4 separate regions of the Homo sapiens genome follow, and regions 2, 3 and 4 are each linked to region 1. The links are contacts of gene promoters, found by promoter capture Hi-C in blood cells and fetal thymus (Javierre and others, 2016). All regions are on one chromosome and are shown on one strand. Each heading gives the region's core, a stretch centred on a gene start or on the middle of the fragment in contact. The rest is flanking DNA. Distances are from core to core; before and after follow the strand shown.

Evidence for each region. The method cuts DNA at HindIII sites, captures the fragments that hold promoters and counts their contacts. A CHiCAGO score of 5 or more calls a contact.
Region 2: a fragment that was not itself captured here is called in contact with the fragment with the promoter of SYCE3 in region 1 in 1 of 17 cell types (naive B cells); the score reaches 5.1 in naive B cells.
Region 3: a contact is called between a fragment that was not itself captured here and the fragment with the promoter of SYCE3 in region 1, in 1 of 17 cell types (endothelial precursors). The highest score is 5.4, in endothelial precursors.
Region 4: a fragment that was not itself captured here is called in contact with the fragment with the promoter of SYCE3 in region 1 in 1 of 17 cell types (endothelial precursors); the score reaches 5.5 in endothelial precursors.

The regions. Positions count from the first base shown.
Region 1 is chr22:50,561,444-50,564,713 of GRCh38, forward strand. SYCE3 (synaptonemal complex central element protein 3) reads right to left here and starts at 1,476. Exons shown (of 3, transcript NM_001123225.3): 1 at 1,415-1,476. LOC107985568 (a long non-coding RNA gene) reads left to right here and starts at 1,518. Exons shown (of 2, transcript XR_001755606.3): 1 at 1,518-2,124. RefSeq lists silencers at 1-97, 1,168-1,577. The HindIII fragment of the contact is 5,765 bases long and covers 1-3,270 here.
Region 2 is chr22:50,350,703-50,353,972 of GRCh38, forward strand. All of the region lies in intron 1 of PPP6R2 (protein phosphatase 6 regulatory subunit 2), which reads left to right. Among named protein-coding and RNA genes, the nearest start is that of PPP6R2, 9.0 kb to the left of the region's middle. The HindIII fragment of the contact is 1,805 bases long and covers 740-2,544 here.
Region 3 is chr22:50,733,090-50,736,359 of GRCh38, forward strand. LOC105373100 (a long non-coding RNA gene) reads right to left here. Exons shown (of 2, transcript NR_134637.1): 2 at 2,740-3,270. SHANK3 (SH3 and multiple ankyrin repeat domains 3) reads left to right here. Exons shown (of 25, transcript NM_001372044.2): 25 at 1-123. Among named protein-coding and RNA genes, the nearest start is that of ACR, 3.5 kb to the right of the region's middle. The HindIII fragment of the contact is 2,544 bases long and covers 318-2,861 here.
Region 4 is chr22:50,713,597-50,716,866 of GRCh38, forward strand. It overlaps SHANK3 (SH3 and multiple ankyrin repeat domains 3), which reads left to right. Exons shown (of 25, transcript NM_001372044.2): 22 at 1,321-1,451; 23 at 2,073-2,157. Among named protein-coding and RNA genes, the nearest start is that of ACR, 23 kb to the right of the region's middle. The HindIII fragment of the contact is 2,578 bases long and covers 393-2,970 here.

The DNA.
Region 1 (3,270 bases), core at 226-2,725:
GGTGGAGAAAGAGGCCTGAGCCCGCACCAAAGCACAATGGAACGGAGCTTAGGATGGGTGGCGGAAGTGTGGGGCGGGAGGAGCGTGGGGCGGGAGGAGTGTGGGGCGGGAGCGTGGGGCGGGAGTGTAGGGTCTGGCTTGGGTATCACTTTAGGTGTGAAGGACGGGGGTTGAGCGAGTCAGAGCCTAGAGTCTGGTTTGTGGTCTGAGTGTCTTGCCTGGTACGAAGAGTTTCTAACAGAGTCTGGGATCCCTCTGAGAACAAGGAATGTGAGGGGATAAGAGGGATGCTTGGTGCAGAGATGTGCTCTTTTGTACGGGATGAGAGCAGCACAGGAAGGGAATGCACCTGTGATGTGGGAGAGAAGTCTTGGAGTTGGGCTATGAAGAGTCTGGGCGGGTCCTGAAGTGCAGGTGGAGGAAGCCAGAGGTGCGTGTGGGAACTTGGGGTGTGAGGTGGTGTGTGGACTCCGGGGTCCCAGGTGTGGCAGGTGTGAGGGTAAGAGGGGCAGGCTGCACGGAATGAGAAGCCCAGGGTGTGCAGACTTCAGGATCAGGAGTGTATGGTGTGAGGACATGGAGATTAGGTTAAGGGGGTGAAGGACTGAGGTGAGGGATGTAAGGTGGGGAGAGTGGGGTATGGAGTGTGCAGTGAGGGGAGCGGGGGAGGGGTGAGGCGGGGTGAGGCGGGGTGAGGAGGGGTGAGGGGTGAGGCGGGGTGAGGGGTGAGGCGGGGTGAGGGGTGAGGCTGGGTGAGGAGGCGGGTGAACGGTGACGTGAGCGATGAGGGGTGAGGGGCGAGGCGGGTGAGGCGGGGTAAGGAGGGGTGAGGCGGGGTGAGGGGTGAAGGGTGAGGCGGGGTGAGGGGTGAAGGGTGAGGCGGGGTGAGGGGTGAGGGGTGAGGCGGGGTGAGGGGTGAAGGGTGAGGCGGGGTGAGGGGTGAAGGGTGAGGCGGGGTGAGGGGTGAGGCGGGGTGAGGGGTGAGGCGGGGTGAGGGGTGAGGGGTGAGGCGGGGTGAGGAGGGGTGAGGGGTGAGGGGCGAGGCGGGTGAGGCGGGGTGAGGAGGGGTGAGGGGTGAGGCGGGATGAGGGGTGAGGGGTGAGGCGGGATGAGGGGTGAGGGGTGAGGCGGGGTGAGGGGTGAGGCGGGGTGAGGGGTGAGGGGCGAGGCTGGGTGAGGAGGCGGGTGAGCGGTGACGTGAGCGATGAGGGGTGAAGGGTGAGGCGGGGTGAGGGGCGTCGGGGGAGGGGCATGGGGTGTGGAGTGAGTGGAGTCGGGTGAGTGGAGTTGGGTCGAAGTCAAGGGTCTGGCTTGAGGTTGGTGCCACCGCGAACGCTAGGACAGGGTCAGGCGGAGCCCAGCCGTCAGGGCGCGTTGGGAGGGCCGGGGCCCAGGGGGGCGCGGCCTCGCTCACCTCCAGCTTGGCCCGCGCTCCGGTCCTGCTCTGGCGCCCCCAGCGGCCGCTTGAGGAACAAGGCCGCTCCTCGAGAGGGATGCCCCGCCCTTTCCGTTAGCGAACCCTCCCCGGAAGTGACCTCTCGCCCTCATTGGGTGTCCTCGGGAAAAGGGGCGGGGCATTCCGCGCTGCTCCCACAGGTCTGCGGCGTCCGAGTCTGGGACTGGCAGGTGCGGTGCTGGGGACGTCCTGAGGTTGAGGGAGAATCCTGCGGAGATGAAGAGCTTCCCGGCCTGACAGTTTTGCCCCCACCTCCTTCTTGAGCTTAAGGATTTATACGCAGGGCCCCGTTTGCCTGCTGTGTCCCCAGTGTCCAGGACAGCGCCCGGTACCAAAGGTGCTGGTAAACATTTGTCGAATGAGTCGCTGAACGCCCAGCTATTTCCACTGTCACAGCGATCATGTGTGGCGGACATTATGTGGCATGTATCTTACAGAGGAGGCAGCCCGGGCTCAGGGAGACGAGGCAGAGGTGCACGCAGGTCTATGTGGGCTGGAAAGTGCTGGGGCCTCCCGGGCGCTCCTGGTCTCCAGGCAAGAACTGGAAGCAGAGCCACTCAACACCTAGAAGGGCAGTGACAGAAAGCTCTGGCTGGGAGGAGGCTGACCAGAGGCCAGTCTGAGCTCAGCCTTTTTTTTCAGAGGGACGTGGGCACCCTAGAAGGGTGGTAAGTAGGCGAGTGGCAGAGTTAAAAGGTCTCTGGCTGCCGAGGCGGGTGGCGACGGGGCCGGCCGTTGCTGTTGTTTGGCTGAGTGGTGGACAGGGTCAAAGCCATTCCAAGGTCGACTTGACAGGGCTTGGTAATGTGGGAGGGAGGGAGAAAGAAGCAAGGGGCTAATGGCCGGGGTGATACCACTGGCAGAGATGTGGAAGAGTGGGAGAAGCTAGCTTGGAAGGTTAACTTTGATTTTGAACACCTTGTGTTTGAGAATCCTGACAAACCTTAGACCCCCTGAATTTTCTCTCAGGGATTCTGATTCTTAGCAGCCTGATTGCAGAGGAGGAAAAATGGCTGGGGTTGAGCCAGACAGTTCTGGGCAAGGAGTGAGCATTCGCTTGTTTATTGAGGAGGCTGCTGCCTGGGCCACACTCCCTCCGCCAGCTGCCAGGTTCCTGCCCCGGTTGAACCCGGTTTTCTGGCCATCCCTTTCCACCTGTGAGCTGCTCTTCATACTTCCATTTGCTTATACAGCCCAGAGCCGATTTCTGTTACAGCAGCCCAGAGAAACATGAATAGGGAATAATTCTTTTTTTTTTTTTTTGAGACGGAGTCTTGCTCTGTTGCCCAGGCTGGAGTGCAGTGGCACGATCTCGGCTCACTGCAACCTCCGCCTCCCAGGTTCAAGTGATTCTCCTGCCTCAGCCTCCCTAGTAGCTGGGATTACAAGCACATGCCACAACGCCCAGCTAGTTTTTGTATTTTTAGTAGAGACCGGGTTTCGCTATGTTGGCCAGGCTGGTCTCGAACTCCTGTCCTCAGGTGATCCACCCGCCTCGGACTCCCAAAGTGCTGGGATTACAGGTGTGAGCCACTGTGCTTGGCCCGAATCAGGAATAATTCTGATGGCTAAGGAAGACAGCTTCCGAGAGAGTAGGAGAAAGGGCACAGGATTCCAGGCAGAAGGCCCATCTAGGGCAAAGGCGAAGGTGTGGCTCAGCCTGCCTCCTTTGGGGAATGGCGAGTGTGTTCTGGGCTCAGGGTTCTTGGTAAGGGACAGAGAAGACTCGGGAAAGATCAGTTGAGCTGGAATGTGCAGGCTCTTGAGTACCCTGCTCAGGAGCTGGAGGTGGGCTACCCTGCAAACTCCAGGCC
Region 2 (3,270 bases), core at 392-2,891, 210 kb before region 1:
GGTGTGGTGGTGGGCGCCTGTAGTCTCAGCTACTTGGGAGGCTGAGGCAAGAGAATGGCATGAACCCAGGAGGCGCAACTTGCAGTGAGCCGAGATTGCCCCACTGCACTCCAGCCTGGGCGACAGAGCAAGACTCCGTCTCAAAAAAAAAAAAAAAATTACTCCTTGATCCATGGGCTGCAGTATGGAGTATGTTAGCAGGCATGACAACATTAGTCTCCTTGTACATCTTAATCAGAGCTCTTGGGTGACTAGATGCATGGTCAATGAGCAGTAATATTTTGAAAGGAATCTTTTTTTTCTGAGCAGTAGGTCTCAACAGTGTTTTTTTTTTTTTTTTTTTTTTTTTTTTTTTGAGACAGAGTTTCACTCTTGTTGCCCAGGCTGGAGTGCAATGGCGCAATCTTGGCTCACCGCAACCTAAGCCTCCCAGGTTCAAGTGATTCTCCTGCCTCAGCCTCCCTAGTGGCTGGGATTACAGGCATGTGCCATTGCGCCCAGCTAATTTTGTATTTTTAGTAGAGATGGTGTTTCACCATGTTGGCCAGGCTGGTCTCAAACTCCTGACCTCAAGTGATCCGCCCGCCTTGGCCTCCCAAAGTGCTGGGATTACAGGAGTGAGCCACCGCGCTCGGCCTGATTTAGCATAATTCTTAAGGGTCCTAGGATTTTCAGAATGATAAATGAGCATTCAATTTAAAAGTCACCAGCTGCATTAGCGAGTCAGCCTGTGCACTCAAGCTTTGAAGCCAGGCGTTGACTTACCCTGTCTAGCTATGAAAATCCTAGATGGCACCTTCTTCCAATAGAAGACTGTTTCATCTGTATTGAAAAATCTGTTGTTTGCCATAGCCTCCTTCATCAATTGTCCTAGCTGGATCTTCCAGATCTAGCGACAACTTCTATATCAGCATTTGCTGTTTTGTTTTTGTTTTTTGTTTTTTGTTTTGAAATGGAGTCTCCCTCTGTCACCCAGGCTGGAGTGCAGTGGTGCCATCTCAGCTCACCGCAACCTCTGGTTCCCGTGTTCAAGTGATTCTCCTGCCTCAGCCTCTTGAGTAGCTGGGATTACAGGTAGCCGCCGCCATACCCAGCTAATTTTTTTTTTTGAAACGGAGTCTTGCTCTGTCACCCAGTCTGGAGTGCAGTGGCGCGATCTCGGCTCACTGCAAGCTCTGCCTCCCAGGTTCATGCCATTCTCCTGCCTCAGCCTCCCCAGCAGCTGGGACTACAGGTGCACACCACCATGCCCAGCTAATTTTTTTGTATTTTTTAGTAGAGACGGGGTTTCATCGTGTTAGCCAGGATGGTCTCCATCTCCTGACCTCATGATCCGCCTGCCTCGGCCTCCCAAAGTGCTGGGATTACAGGCGTGAGCCACCGCACCCGGCCACACCCAGCTAATTTTTGTATTTTTTAGTAGAGACGGGGTTTCACCATGTTGGCCAGGCTGGTCTTGAACTCCTGACCTCAAGTGATCCTTCCGCCTCGGCCTCCCAAAGTGCTGGGATTACAGGCAAGAGCCATCGCGCCCGGCCGGCATTTGCTGTTTCACCTTGCACTTTAGTATGTTATGGAGGTGGCTTCTTAAACCTCATGAAACAACCTCCGCTAGCTTCCAGTTTTTCTTCTGCAGCTTCGTCATCTCTGTCATCCTTTGTAGAACTGAAAAGAGTGAGGGCCTTACTGTAGACTATTTAAGTCTGGTTTCGTCTTCTCTCCAAACCATTAAAACTTTCTGCAGGCATTGGGTGCGGTGTCTGACCCCTGTAATCCCAGCACTTTGTGAGGCTGAGGCAGGTGGATCACGAGGTCAGGAGGAGACCATCCTGGCCAACATGGTGAAACCCCATCTCTACTAAAAATACAAAAATTTGCTGGGTATGGTGGTGCGTGCCTGTAGTCCCAGCTACTCGGGAGGCTGAAGCACAAGAATTGCTTGAACCAAGGAGGTGGAAGTTGCAGTGAGCCAAGATCACGCCACTGCACTCCAGCCTGGTGACAGAGCGAGACTCTGTCTCAAAACAAAAACAAAAACAAAAAAAAAAAACACACAAAACAACAACAACGTAACTTTCTGCAGGCTAGGCACGGTTGCGCACACCTCTAATCCCAGCACTTTGGGAGGCTGAGTGGGGAGGATCGCTTGAGCTCGGGAGTTTGAGACCAACCTGAGTAATACAGTGAAACCTCATCGCTACAAAATAAAAGTTTAGCTGAATGTGGTGGTGCATGCCTATAGTCCCAGCTACTGGGGAGGCTGAGGTAGGAGGATGGCTTGAATCTGGGACGTCAGAGCTGCAGTGAGCTGTGATGGTGCCACTACATTCCAGCCTGGGCAACAGAGTAAGACCTGCCTCCAAACAGAAAGCAGCCTTCTCCGTGTCAGCAATAAAGCTGCTTTGCTTTATTATTATTTATGTCTTCACTGGAGTAGCAGTTTTAATTTCCCTCAAGAACCTTTCTTTGGCATTCACAACTTGGCAAACTGGTGCAGGAGGGCTAGCTTTTGGCCTGTCGGCTTTTGACATGCCTTCTTCACTAAGCTTAAGCATTTCTAGCTTTTGATCGAAATGAGAGACATGTGACTCTTCCTTTCCTACAGGATTAATTGACCTAACGTTATTACGTTATTACTGTTGTGTCTCAGGGAGTAGGGAGCCCTGAGGAGAGGGGGAGAGACTCAGGGAAATGGCCGGTCAGAACTTACGCAGCGTTTATTAAGTTTGCTATCCTATATGGGCACGGTTTGTAGTTTCCCAAAACAATTAAAATAGTAACATCAAACATCACCGATAACAGGTCACCATAACAGATAAAATAATAATGAAAGAGTTTGAAATATTGTGAGAATTACCAGAATGCAACACAGAGACACGAAGTAAGCACATGCTGTTGGAAAAATGGCACCCCTCGACGTGCTTGACGCAAGGTTGCTACCAGCCTTTAATTTGTAGAAAGCACATTACCTGCGAAGCACAATGAAGGGAAGCACGTTAGACAAAGTACGCCTGTGTTGTTTTCCATTTCACAGATGAGGAAATGGAAATAAACAGCAAGTAGATGATAGAGGCAAGATTTGTACCCCAGGTAGTGTGACTCAAAAGCCTCTCCCTTTTTTTTTTTTTTTGTTAAGGGAAAGGCTAACTTTTAAAAATATTTTTAAAAAATTTTAATAGATTCCCTAGAAGAATAGAGGAAGAACAAAGAAAATTAAAAGAATACATTTTGGAATTGTAACGATAACTGATTATGTATCAGGCATTTGTG
Region 3 (3,270 bases), core at 340-2,839, 170 kb after region 1:
CAGTCCTGAGGCCTCCTGACCCTGACGTTGTGATACGCCCCACAGAGATCTATGTTTCTTATATTATTATTATTGATAATAATTATTATAATATTATTATGTAATAAATTTATAAGAAATGAAGCCATGGCTCAGTTGCCTGCTTGAGGGGATATTTGTGTCTGTCCCTCATACCGGCCACACAAACCTCCTCAGCCTGGACCACATGCACGGGTGACTCCTAGATCCCTATCTTTGACCTCCATGCCTAGGCACCTGGCATCTTCCAGCATCTTCTCCGAGTCTGCTGGAACTCAGCCCATGCCTTCTGCACCGAAAGCTTTTCTCTGTTCACCAACCCACTGAGTAGCACCTCCTAAGCTGGAGGCCACTTGTCCTCCATGACCCCTGCCAGGTTTTAAGCCTAGGGTTTAAGACTTGCTCCCGCCAGCGTCCGGTTGCTTTTAAATTCTGCTGCTCCTGTCTTGGAACCCGCTCGCATCTCTCGCAACTGTCCTACCCCACGGCTGCAGACCAGATTTAGCCCTCACTCCTTCCCTGCTGATTCACTGGTTTTCTGTTTCCATTTCTGCCCTCTGCTGACAAACACCAGCCTGTCTGTAAATGCAGCTGATGGATGGACCCCGTGAGCCAGTCCGGCCCAGCCAGTGCTGCCGTGGCCCTGCCAGCATCCCCTGCTCCCTCCCCATGCACACATGCTGCTCGCCAGTCTCCCCCCACCTCCTGCAATCCCTGAGCCGCTATGACGCTTCAGGGCTCTGTCTCACACATGCCCTCTTCCTTCTGCCTGGATCACCCATCGTTTGCCTGCATCAAGCATACATAGCTTGGAGGCTGATCTCCGGATCCTGTCTTCCAGGACGTTTTCTCTGACCCGCCCTCCCTGGAGTCCCAGTTAGATGTTAGGCTCTGCGTCTGCACGGCCCTGGTGCTATCTCAAATTAGAGCAAGTTGGTGCTTCTCACCTTGGGTTGTCTGCCCAGTTGGATGTGAGGTTTCCTTTTTGCTCCCACCCTGAGCACCAGAGACAAGACATTGTCCTTCAGGAGCGCACAGGCAGTCATGTGAGCAGCCGATAATGTGGCAAAAAAGACACGTCCTGGGTGGCACCTGGTGGGGGTGGCCAGCCAACAGGAGGGACAGAGACCCCTCGCTGAGTGGAAGGAGGTGGTGAGCTATGTCTTGAAGGGCAAACAGTAAGGCAAGTGGGCAAAGGCAATCAAGAGGGAGCCGTGAGAAAGTAGAGGGCACAGGACCCAGCACTGAGGCCAGGGGCTGCAGAGATGTGACGTCCCCGGTGGGGAGGGTTGCTTACAGGAGGGGCAGTGGTTTCAGAGCCTGGACACACTGGGTTGAGGAGGCGCGTGAATATGACAGAATGACAATCGCATACCTTGGCTCTGTGGTTAACCTTAGCCAGGGGTGGGGCCGGTGGCACCGTGGAGAAGTGCCACTAGCCCCAGACTCTGAGTCCCCATGGAGGCCTAGGGCTCCATGTGCAGCCCAGGGAGACCCACCCTCCCGATTCCACACACTCAGGCCCAGAGCGAGTCAGGGGCCCCCTGCTCCCACACTCAGACCCTTGCAGGGCCCCCCTCCTTGACTTCCCGTGCAGCCCTTTCCTTATGATGGCCTCAGTTTCTAATCTGAAAATAAGATGAGGATTAGGAAATGTTGAAAATTTGAAATTGTGTGGCCTCTGCTCTTCCTGTGGGCTGGCACCCCCCAGCCACTCCCAAGACCTGTGGACAACTTTGGGGCAGGGCCAGGACATGGAGGCTGCTTTTGTTTTGTTTTGAGACAAGGTCTCACCCTGTCACCCAGGCTGGAGTGCAGGGGCATGATCGTGGCTCACTGTAGCCTCAACCTCCTGGAATTGAGCGATCCTCCTGCCTCAGCCTCCCAAGTAGCTGGGACTGCAAGCGTGGGCCATCACACCTGACTAATTTTTTTTTTATTTTTTATGAGATGGGGGCCTCATTTTGCTGCCCAGGCTGGTCTAGAACTCCACCCTCCTTAGCCTTTCAAAGTGCTTCGATGACAGGTGTGGGCCACCTTGCCCAGCCTGAGGCTGGTTTTCAAGCTGTCATCAACCATAGCCTCAAAGGGCCTTCGTCCTTCTCCATGGCGCCACCCAGACCCTCACCTGCTTGCTTAAACCACCCCCGAGGCACCTGCTTCCCCTGGGTGAAGACCTGAAACCTACCCCTTTTCGGCCCTCAAGGTTTCACTGCGTCAACCATTCTTACTCCCTCTGGGATCTTCTTGCCTTCCTGGCTGGCTGGACATTGAGGATGGTTGGATAAGGTTTCTGCTCCTCACGGAGGGTGGTGGGGACAGGAATGGAAAAGTAGGGGATTGGGGGCTGGAAGGGATTGGAGATCAGGGTGAGAAAAACTGGGGTGGGAGTTGGATTGCCCAGGTAAATAAGGCATGGGGACAGAAGTGGGCACGGCTGGCGAAGGCAGCGGGTGGTTGGGGTGAGCAGGAGCAGCGAGAATGGCTGGGATGAGCTGGAGGGGTGCCTGGGGGTCAGGGTGGAAGCAGAGAGCAGGGAGGAGTTTGAGGGGAGATGGGGAGCCCCCATCCTGCCCCCTGTGCTGAGCACTCTGCCTCAGCCTGAGCCATGCCCTCGGATGGGACCCCACCCTCTGGCCCCAGACCTGTCACCCATTTCTCCTTCGCTCTTAGAACAGCATGAAGAAGGTCAGACAAAGTCACTCTGAGTTGAGATGTTTGTTGCTTCCATTAGTTTAATGACAAAATTAAATGGGCCGGGCCAGGTACTTTTCCCGCAACCATCACTATAGCCACGGGCAGGCACGATGACTGGCAGCCCCTTCTAGAATCAGAAGTGGGTAAGCTTTGCGGAGTCAAACTGTAATGGTCTTCTAGAATCCAGACACTGACATTGGGTCTTCAGACTTTTTTATTGATACCTCCTAAATATTTGTAAAGAAATAGGTGCTATCCATTAAAAACACCCGAATAATATTTTCTTTAACAGTCAAAACTTTAATCTTCTTCTTTTTTTTTTTTGAGACAGGGTTTCACTCCCATTGCCCAAGCTTGAGTGCAATGGTGCGATCTCGGCTCACTGCAACTTCTGCCTTCTGGGTTCAAATGATTCTCCTGCCTCAGCTTTCTGAGTAGCTGGGATGCAGGTGCCACTGCACCTGGCTAATTTTTGTATTTTTTGTACAGACGGGGTTTTGCCGTGTTGCCCAGGCTGGTCTGGGGCTCCTGAGCTCAAGTGATCTGCCTGCCTCA
Region 4 (3,270 bases), core at 432-2,931, 150 kb after region 1:
CACTGGGAGCTGTGCACAGGCCCAGATATCTGCAGTTGGAGCCTGTTTTGCTGGTAAACTCTTGTATCGTTCAGGACACAGGCTGGGCGCTGATGGAACACAGAGAACAGTATTTGCTCTGTTCTGCAGACCCGGAAGCTGTCTGGGGAGATGGGGCACACAGACATGAATTGTACTGAATTGTGTCCAGTGCCAGCACAGTTGTAAGCCTTTCTTCTGTGCTAATTCTCACTAGAGACACGTGAGCGAGCACTGTTTTTATGCCTGTTTTATCAATGAGGACACAGAGGTCACAAAGAGGTTATGTCAGGACAGAGTCAGTGTACAGGGTGGGTCTGGTCTGGGTTGGGTACAGGACAGTCTTGGGGAGTTCCTTCCTTCCAGCAATGCTAAGCTTGGGGAGTTCCTTCCTTCCTTCCAGCAATGCTAAGCAGATTGCAGAGGTAGAATCAGCAGGTGCTGTGAACAGCTGCAGATTGGAGTTGGAAGGAGTAGGAGGTGTCCAGTCTGACCGTTGAAATTCTCCAACAAGGGGCCAAGACAAGAGTGAAAGGTGCCAAGACAAGTGTGGCCAGACAGTGGTCCCTCTAGGGTTGGCATAGCCCCAAAGAGTGGAGAAGGGCTTGGGGTTGGGTGCAGCCTGAGTGATGGGTGGGGTGCAGTGGGGCTGCTGAATGAGAGGGCCGGTGCAGCAGCCAGGTGGACATGAGTGCTGCCCCAGCCCTTGCTGCATGCTGCACGCACTGGTCCTCAGTGGACCCACAGGGGGCGAGAGCTGCTTATGTCCTGGGGGAGCCATCCAACCAGGGCTCTGATGGTCCTGAGATACACGTATTAGTTTAACAGTTTCCAAGTCACTTTGATCTTCTGTGGAAACCTGCTTGTACATCAGGGTCTGTCCTCGGGCTGTGACCCGCTGTGAACAGCTTCCCTTCCAGTGCGGTACAGATAGCCAAGAGTGGCCTGTATGTGCTGAGAACAGTGACAGGACGAAGGGAAATGGAGGGAAATCCAGGGAGACTGTGGTCTCTGAATCGTTTGTCTGTCCTGTGCCCTGGTCTTCTCCCTCATGGTCAGAGTGGCCTTTCCTTAAGTGAGGTCCACAGGGTCACCTGGAGTCTCCTTGAGGCTAGAGAGGCTGCCTGGGGTGGGGTCTGAGTTCTGGGGTGAGGGCCTTGTCTTGGGAGCCTGGGGTGGGAGCTCAAGGAGGGAGGGGAGCGGTGGCCTCTGTCAGCATCACGGGTGGCCGGGTTGGGGAGGACATGGCAGTGGGGCAGGAGGTGGCCCAGGCAGCTGAGATGGAGCCTCCTTGCTGTGCAGAGAAGCTGGACGAGATGCTGGCAGCCGCCGCAGAGCCAACGCTGCGGCCAGACATCGCAGACGCAGACTCCAGAGCCGCCACCGTCAAACAGAGGCCCACCAGTCGGAGGATCACACCCGCCGAGATTAGCGTAAGGGCCACGGGCGGCTGGGAGCGCTGGGTCGGGCAGGCATGGGGGTCAGACTGTCCTGGGCCCTCTTGACGGAGGTGAGAGCCTATCATGTGGACCCCTCTCCAGAGGGGTGTGTGCACCCCATGGCCTCTCTCAGAGACTCTTGGGGCTGTCTCTGCCCCCTAAATGGCCACAGCTCAGCACCTGCTGGGTTTGCTCTTGTAGCTTTTGGTGCCTCTGCCTTCAGGCAGTCCCTGTCTCACGCCTGAGACCACCAAGGTACCCCAGCTCCGCTGAGAACACGACAAAGCATGTCTCTGTTCCCTGCCCACTTGCCAACCCGGCGCCTTCTAGGCTCCTCCCCCACCCTCACCCAGGGTCGGCCAGGGTCTGCACCCACCCTGCCCAACACCGTCTACACTGTACCACCATCTGCACTGCCCACACAGCCCAGGCTCCAATGGGCTGCATCCTCTGCTCCCTGAGGGCAGAGTCCAGACGTGATTCCTGGGTCCAGGCACCCACAGGCACTAGTGCCATTGGAGTGAGAGCGTGGGGTGTCTCACCTCTGGCTTAGGAGGAGGACTGGGGGCCCCCAGTGCCCTGGAACCTCCATATTCCCCTCCCTGACCCCCACAGTCATTGTTTGAACGCCAGGGCCTCCCAGGCCCAGAGAAGCTGCCGGGCTCCTTGCGGAAGGGGATTCCACGGACCAAGTCTGTAGGTATGGCTGCGCTGTGGGGCTGCATGGGGTGGGGAGGAACGGGGCTGGGGCCGGCAGGGTGGACTTGGGTTTGAAGGACACTGCCTCTCTCTGCCCATAACTGGGGTTTCCAGTTTCCCTCTCAGTCCTGTCTCTTCCTGGCCCCAGCTAAAGGATCTCATACGTTGATGGACATGTGGGGATTAGGCCTTCCCCAACCCAGAGCTTTCCCCCGGCAGCCGACACTCCCTGTCCAGTGGGCACCGCCCCCCATCGCCTCATCCCTCCCATGGGCAGTCTCATCCCTGTCCCCAGCTGCCACTCCCTGTCCACTGGGCACCCCCACCTCCCCATCACCTCTCATCCCTCCCATGGGCAGCCTCATCCCTGTCCCCAGCTGCCACTCCCTGTCCACTGGGCACCCCCACCTCCCCATCACCTCTCATCCTTCCCATGGGCAGCCTCATCCCTGTCCCCAGCTCAGCTGCCTCCATCGCGGTTGCTCCCTTGCAGCCCAAGTGCATGTGAAGTTTCTGACCCTCAAACCCCCTGAACTTGCCTCTCCCCTACTTCTCCATGTATTGCTGTCTCCCCCCTTCACAGCCAGTTTTCCCCAAAAAGTCACCTCTACTGTCCATCTTGTCTCCCGTCCCCCACCGGCTCCTCAGCCTGCGGCAGACTTCCTCTCTCCATACCCAAATTGAAACTGCTCCCACCAGGGTCACCGGCGGCCTCCAGGGCCTTCCTCCCCATGGATGCATGGCCAGCACTCCTGCTGACCTCAGCTGGCATTTGGTTTCTTTGCTCCTTCTTCCGTGAAACGCTCCTCCCCAAAGCTTTAGGACAACACTTACTGGTTTTCCCCTCCTTTCTCAGATGGCACCTATTTCAACCCTGCCGCCCCAGCCTCCCAAATATGGGACCTTTTCAAGGCTGTGTCTTCAGCCTCCTTCCCCTCTGTGCCTCACCACTCCCCAGCCACCATCACACTCCACACTCACCGTCTCCTTTCCTGACCCAGATGGGGACATGTAACAAGCCCTGCCCACTGTGCATCCCTCCAGACATCCACTCTCCCGTCCCCTGCCCACCTGTGCATCTGTCCACCCACACACCTGCCCACTTGACCGTCCG